2 separate regions of the Homo sapiens genome follow, and region 1 is linked to region 2. Evidence: promoter capture Hi-C in human tissues and cell types (Jung and others, 2019). All regions are on one chromosome and are shown on one strand. The core of a region is centred on a gene start or on the middle of the fragment in contact, and the rest is flanking DNA. Distances in the headings are between cores, read along the strand shown.

Region 1 (3,962 bases), core at 218-2,717, 320 kb after region 2:
TTAAATATAAATGATCCTATCACCCCCAATTAACCCTTACCTGACTTACAACACCCAGTGGTGGTCTGCTTCCTGTCTCGTCAGCAGTACTTGTCTCTATGCTCCTCATCACTGTCTGTGCTTCAGACATGCTGGCCTGTCTTCAGTTCCTTCTTTCCACAGGGCCTTTGCACTTACTCTTTGCTCTACCTTAAACACTACACTCTACATTCCTATTCGTCCTTCAGAACTCAATTCTATAGCCCCTTAACTAATCAACAAGGTCGAATCCCTCTACGAACTTTCATAGCGATATAGGCTTCTCCTTCATGGCACTAACTGCAATCCTAATTAGGCATTTTTAAAATTATTTAGTTCATCTCTGCCCCCAACCCCAACAAGATTGCAGGCTCTTTGAAGACCAGGACCACATCAGACTTGGATCTACTGCATCTCGATACTAGCACAGTGTTTGGTACAACGTAGTAGTGATGAATGAATGAATGACTAGTTGCCTTTCTTCACTTCCAAGTAAGTCTATTAAACAAATGTGCCTACACCCCTCTTGCTGCCTCTGCTTTCATCTCACTCTCACCTCCAGGATGTATTCCATACCCACCACCCCTCAACCCATACACACATACAGCCCCCCACCACACACACACACACACACACACTCAAAATTCAAGTCTAACACATTGTCTAGTAATGTAGATTGTGATCAAAGATTTATCTGGATACACAGGAGAGGAGTTATATCACAAAGCAAAATGACTCAATGATGTCTTTTTAGTGTCTCTTATTTGCTTCCTACCAAGTTCTTATCTCTGTAGCAGCAAGAGCTCTTATTCCTCTTCTTCCCCACTCCTTAAGTCTGTTCTGGGAGCCCCACCAGCCAAGCAGCCTCCACCTCCACCTGCCTTTCAAAGTTCACAGAGCTCCAAGTTCATACCCAGCAAAACAAAGCCCAGCCATAGGCCAGGCCATGACTCCCGGGTCCTCAGTTCATAGGGCCACTTGCATTTTTAGAAATTTGGATTGGAACATGTTATCTTTTTTTTTCATATCTTCTTTTGCTTGATAATATTCTTCCCTCCATCAAAGTTATCTTATACCTTCCCTGCTGCCTGTGGCTGACTGAAATCTTATGTCTATCAAGGGCTGCTTCAAATGCCTCATTCTCTGGAAATCTTCCCTTATGGCCCCCAAGTAGAGGTGATTTTTCTCTTCCCTAAATTTGCATCCTACTTATTTTATTCTACTTGGTATTACAGGCAATTTTGTACTTGTTTTTTTCTCCCTCTCCTTAAGAACAATTTCTGTTTCTTACTCCACATGTCTCCTGAAGAAACTGGCCCGGGACTTGGGGTGCATGGCAGGCCCTAATGCTGGTTAGGTTATAAGGAAACTTTTTATATTTTTCTTCCATGTTGGTTTAAGTCTCTTTAAGAAAGCTGCTGAATTTCATGTTCCTAAATGATAGATATTCAATATTTCAATTTCAGAATCAGCTAGAAGAAACCACTAGCCCCTGCCAAGGAATTCTGTAGCTATTGTGGGTGAGTGTAGTATAGCTTTTGGTTTAACAGTCCTAGAGAGATGTTCTCTCTCCAGGTAAAAGGTATCATTGACATTTTTGCCTGGGTTGACTCTGGCTTTCTAAAAATGCAGCACAGGCCTGGCCTCTGAAAGACTATTATTTACAGAATCTAACTCTTATGACTTGTTAAGTATACCAAGGATGGCTAATTAAAAATATTGGCTTATGAATTTAACCTCCTGAGGTCTCCTATCTTTTGGTTCAAGCTTGTCCTCAGCAGAAGCAGGCTGATTCCCAGAAAATCAATTCAGCAGAAGCCAGTTTGTGAATGACCACTTCTTAGAATGGCAAGGTGACCTAGGGCCAACCACAGCAAGCTAAACTGAAGGCTGTGGAATATACCAGACTTTGCTAGACCTATTGCTAGAGTCTGTATTCTGCCATCATTGGTATGATCTTTAGGTGAACAGACTTCTTTTTTTTTCTTTTATGATGGAGTCGTGCTCTGTCGCCCAGGCTAGAGTGCAGTGGCACGATCTTGGCTCACTGCAACCTCCACCTCCTGGGTTCAAGCGATTCTCCTGCCTCAGCCTTCTCAGTAGCTGGGATTGCAGGTGCCTGCCACTGTGCCCGGCTAATTTTTTGTATTTTTAGTAGAGATGGGGTTCCACCATGTTGGCCAGGCTGGTCTTGAACTCCTGACCTCATGATCCACCCACCACGGCCTCCCAAAGTTCTGGGACTACAGGTGTGAGCCAACACACCCAGCCAGGTGAACAGACTTCTTAGTGTTTCATAGTCACCTTGATCAAGGAAAGGGGATGGAGACCCAGTGATGAGGTTTGCTTCATGTGTATATGGCTAACTGAGGGCAGCCAAGACATAACTTAGTATCGCTTGCTCAGAGTTTCTTCCAAACTATACTTAAATTCTCAACATGAAGTATCTTTAACTTCTTTTATTCTTATAAGCATTACCCTGGATTAAACAAGGATAAAAAGTAAAATGAAGTTCTTTGGGGGTTTTAAACCATTTTTTCCATTCCAAAAGTAATACATTTCATTATAGGAAAATTTTAAAATAGAATGAAAAATTAAAATATTTGAAACCCATCTTTCAGCAGCCTAAGGACAATCACATAACATTTTTGACATTTTTTTCTTCCAATCTTTTTTCCACAGAGAGGATGTTTTAGAAAATTGTAATTATCCTATATGTATTTTTTCTTTTTTTTATTTATTTTTATTTTATTATTATTATACTTTAAGTTTTAGGGTACATGTGCACAATGTGCAGGTTAGTTACATATGTATACATGTGCCATGCTGGTGTGCTGCACCCATTAACTCATCATTTAGCATTAGGTATATCTCCTAATGCTAACCCTCCCCCTTCCCCCGACCCCACAACAGTCCCCAGAGTGTGATGTTCCCCTTCCTGTGTCCATGTGTTCTCATTGTTCAATTCCCACCTATGAGTGAGAACAAGCGGTGTTTGGTTTTTTGTCCTTGCGATAGTTTACTGAGAATGATGATTTCCAATTTCATCCATGTCCCTACAAAGGACATGAACTCATCATTTTTTATGGCTGCATAGTATTCCATGGTGTATATGTGCCACATTTTCTTAATCCAGTCTATCCTTGTTGGATATTTCGGTTGGTTCCAAGTCTTTGCTATTGTGAATAGTGCTGCAATAAACATACGTGTGCATGTGTCTTTATAGCAGCATGATTTATAGTCCTTTGGGTATATACCCAGTAACGGGATGGCCGGGTCAAATGGTATTTCTAGTTCTAGATCCCTGAGGAATCGCCACACTGACTTCCACAATGGTTGAACTAGTTTACAGTCCCAACAACAGTGTAAAAGTGTTCCTATTTCTCCACATCCTCTCCAGCACCTGTTGTTTCCTGACTTTTTAATGATTGCCATTCTAACTGGTGTGAGATGATATCTCATAGTGGTTTTGATTTGCATTTCTCTGATTGCCAGTGATGGTGAGCATTTTTTCATGTGTTTTTTGGCTGCATAAATGTCTTCTTTTGAGAAGTGTCTGTTCATGTCCTTTGCCCACTTTTTGATGGGGTTGTTTGTTTTTTTCTTGTAAATTTGTTTGAGTTCATTGTAGATTCTGGATATTAGCCCTTTGTCAGATGAGTAGGTTGCAAAAATTTTCTCCCATTTTGTAGGTTGCCTGTTCATTCTGATGGTAGTTTCTTTTGCTGTGCAGAAGCTCTTTAATTTAATTAGATCCCATTTGTCAATTTTGGCTTTTGTTGCCATTGCTTTTGGTGTTTTAGACATGAAGTCCTCGCCCATGCCTATGTCCTGAATGGTAATGCCTAGGTTTTCTTCTAGGGTTTTTCTGGTTTTAGGTCTAATGTTTAAGTCTTTAACCCATCTTGAATTAATTTTGTATAAGGTGTAAGGAAGGGATCCAG
Region 2 (3,535 bases), core at 589-3,088:
CAAATATTAAAAATTTTGTCCACTATTGGATCTTAACATTATCTTGCAAATTCTACTTTTTGTGTGTGCTCATTTCCCACTTAAACTATCATTGCTTTTTAAGTTGACGCCTAAAATATCTATTAAGCCAAACTGATCTACCCACAGAGCTTTCTGCAGCAGACTCTGATGCTGACATCTCAACAGTTTCCTGTTCCTGGTATGTTTTTCCCCCCTTGTTTCCTTACAACAGTATAATAAAGAAATAATAGGCTTTAAGCCAATTCAAAACTTACCTTGCAAATCTGGAAATACTCCGAAGTCAAAGTTTCCTGAATTTCCTCTCTGAGAACCCCTGCAGTCCCCGCCGGATGTACGGAACCACTTCCAGCCCCACCACCACTGTTACTGCCACTGCTGCTACCACTGCCAGGGGAGGAGGCAGTTAAGCCATCCAAAACTTTTCGGAAATTAAACTTCTTCATTTTAAACACTGTTGAGAAATACAAAGGAAAAAAAGGGAAAGAGGTGACTTAACACGTGCAATTAGACCTTGGTAAAAGCCTTTCTCTTTTCATTAGTCAAGTCAGTCCCCATTTTATGAGCATTGGTTACGACCGACTGGAAAAAAAGAGTCAGGATTCGTTTTGCCAAATTTTAATTCTAAAAAGCATATCCTTTTTAAAAAAAGATAAATATAACACAACTCCAAAAGCAACAGTATTCCCTCCTCACACATCAGATTTTCAAGGACTGTATCCCCAGCTGTAACTACGCTTTATCAGCACTGGGGTAAAAATAAAAGGCAGTGTCATCATCGTCATTAGCATTATATCATCATTATTATACAATCAAACCAGAGTTCAACAGACCAAGACTCTGTCTCTCTCTTAAGGGCGGACTTTCCTTCTTCGAAACGTTCGGCTCAGAGTATTTTATTTTCAGAAAAACGACGTTGGGGGAGCCGGTATTTACTCTGCCACCACCTTCCGGGCTCTTCCCCCATCAGCTTCAACGCTTCCTTTTTTGTCACTATGAAAGGCGGGGAGGGGGGTACTTTTTCTAGTCCCCATCCCCCAGCAGCCCGGACCCCAAAACATCTGCGAGTGACCCACAGCAACAGCTGCCGGGGAGGGGGGGAGGAGGAGAACGGCGACACCGTCTGTTTCCACTTGTCCCTCCGCCTCCCCCTCACCTCCCCCTCATCTCCCTCCCCGCGTCCTCTTTCCCCCCTCTCCCCATCTCCTGCTCCCCTCCCTCCACCTCTGCCCGCAGCCGCCGCCGCGCTCTCCCGCCTGTTCGCCCGCCCGCCGTCCGCTCTCCCCGCTGCACGGCAGCCGCTCTCGGGGGACGTGAAGCGGTGGCGGCGACGGCTGCGGCCCGAGTCCCGCCTCAGCCTGCTGGGCGCGCAGAGCCGCCGCTCCCGCTGTCCCTCCCCCAGGCCCAGCGCTGAGGCGCGGGGCTCTCGCCCGCCCGCGGGCGCGCGAACACACAAACACCTCACGCCGAGGCATTCGCGCTCCCAGCCAGAACACACACAAACACCCTCACACGGGCATTCGCGCGCTGGTGCGCTCGCTCTCTGTCTCTGTCTCTCTCTGTCTCTCTCTCTCTCAAACACACACACACACTCACACAGACACACACAGGTGCGAGGGAGCCACAGCTGGACGGCGGCAGCGGCGGCGGCGTCCCAGAGGGATGACTATCTGACCCAGGACTTAGGCACCTTCCTCAGACGCCTCTAGCCGCCTGCCAGCCCGGGAAGCTGAGGGGGCCGAGGTAGGCGGGCTCCGGCCGCTTCTCTGGGCCCTCTGGTCGCGGCGCCTGGCGCTCTCCGAGGTCCTAACCGAGCAGTCAGGCTCCAGAGCAGGCTCCGCCCTCCCGCCGTGGGAGGCAGGCCCCGCCCCCGGGCCGGCCCCTAGCTTGCCCCGCCCTGCTTCTTCCCCGGCAAAGCTGGGAGGTGAAGGGGGCGGGGTGCCCGGGGACGTCAAAGGGCGGGAGTAGCTTCGGCGCCAATCCTAGATTCGATAGGGTAAGTTCTGTGGTCTCCAGGGCAGAAGAAATCTGTGGATAGGCCGAAGGTAAAGCCAATGACAGTGGGAGGGGGGAATTTAGAGAAGTAGGTGAGGTATTTGATTGACAGCGGTATTGGCCAGTATGCTGGGGGTCGTGCTCTGGGGGATGTAATTGGCGCTACCTGTTGAAGGACTCAAGTGTGAATCAATAGAATGCCTGCAAGCGTGCGAATTTGGACGCCTGGAGTCTGAGGATGCGGGAAGCGTTGCTTACCTTAGGTATGGCTCTGGACAGTATGGTGAACTGAGCAAGTGTTTTGCACCTTTTCACTTCTGCGAGCCTCTTCCCGGTCTTCAGGAGCATCTATCTGGCTCCCATCACTCTCCTGCTACCTGCACTCAACTTGTATCTGTGATTAACCCCTGCTGTTACCAATAATGGCTTAATGGTTCGTATCTGCCAAGGAGAATTGTATTTCAACAGTTTCAGAATATATAGCCTTCTAGAGCCTAAGGAATTGATTGCTTACCTTGCTCTCTAGTAAGTAGAATTACTCCTTCCCCATCATCCTCACATATACAAAGATATTTAATTTCTTTAAAGAAATATTTCTCACTCTGTAAACCGTATCAAGAATATATTTTAAGCTATTTCTGTGAGTCACAATAATCATTTTGAAAGATGTATTATTCAGTGCAGAAAAAAAAACTGTATCAGGATAGATTTGGTTCTGAGCCCTCACCTGCTATTGACTTCGGGAAAATTTGGACCCCGATGTCTTTGCGAAATGAATGGCAGTTCAGCGGGTCACAGCTAACTGAGACTTCAATTTGGGCATCACAACAGAACTCATTAGTGATCATTTCAAATATTGTCTTACATCTTACAATCTTTGACCTCTTTTTTTCTTTTCTTCTTTTTCTTCTTTTTCACCTCTCCTCTTCTCTCTCTCTCTTTTCTCTCAATCAAGGGAGAGAGTGGGAAGGAGGAAGCAGGAGACTTGAAGGATGATGACTTGTCCAAGGACATAGCAAAGAAATGGTAAAGATGAAATAGAGCTCAGTTTTTCAGATCCTCAGCTCAACGTTGAATCTTTCTGTCCTGAATGACTATTTCACTCCTTTTGGGACTCCCTACACTGCTGGTAGTCTCTCATTGCCACAGCTAGACAGTAACCTTCTTGAAGGCAAGCATGGAATTGTATATTTCTCCTAGATTATTTAGCACCAGGCACAATATTTCACTTAAAATAGGCACGTAAAGGGTTCTGAAGAGTTGGTTTATTAATATTTTTTATTAAAGATATATGAGTTGGTACCCAATTACATAATGTTTGAAAGGGGTAAAAATAATGGTGGAAATAAGTGATATGTCTGACACAAACTAGATCTTGGTAGGGTTCCAAATTCTGTATTGGGTCCCTAACAACAGGTATCTTTTTACTCTTTTCCACCTTTTTTCTTCTCTTCTTCCTGGCCCATTGCTCACCTCAAAGTATGGACGCTAGTTAAGGATAAAGAGTTTGCTTTCCTTGTTT

The links. Contacts are between HindIII fragments. The study calls those that stand out against the background at their distance.
Region 1: a contact is called between a fragment that was not itself captured here and the fragment with the promoter of STXBP5L in region 2, in 1 of the 25 tissues and cell types used here (dorsolateral prefrontal cortex).

The regions. Positions count from the first base shown.
Region 1 is chr3:120,583,454-120,587,415 of GRCh38, reverse strand. No RefSeq gene overlaps it. Among named protein-coding and RNA genes, the nearest start is that of NDUFB4, 11 kb to the left of the region's middle. The HindIII fragment of the contact is 3,986 bases long and covers 1-3,460 here.
Region 2 is chr3:120,906,508-120,910,042 of GRCh38, reverse strand. It overlaps STXBP5L (syntaxin binding protein 5L), which reads right to left and starts at 1,838. Exons shown (of 27, transcript NM_001308330.2): 1 at 1,709-1,838; 2 at 276-472. The coding sequence starts at 464. It overlaps LOC105374069 (a long non-coding RNA gene), which reads left to right and starts at 1,950. Exons shown (of 6, transcript XR_924399.4): 1 at 1,950-2,014. RefSeq lists a silencer at 1,767-2,006. The HindIII fragment of the contact is 16,055 bases long and covers 1-3,535 here.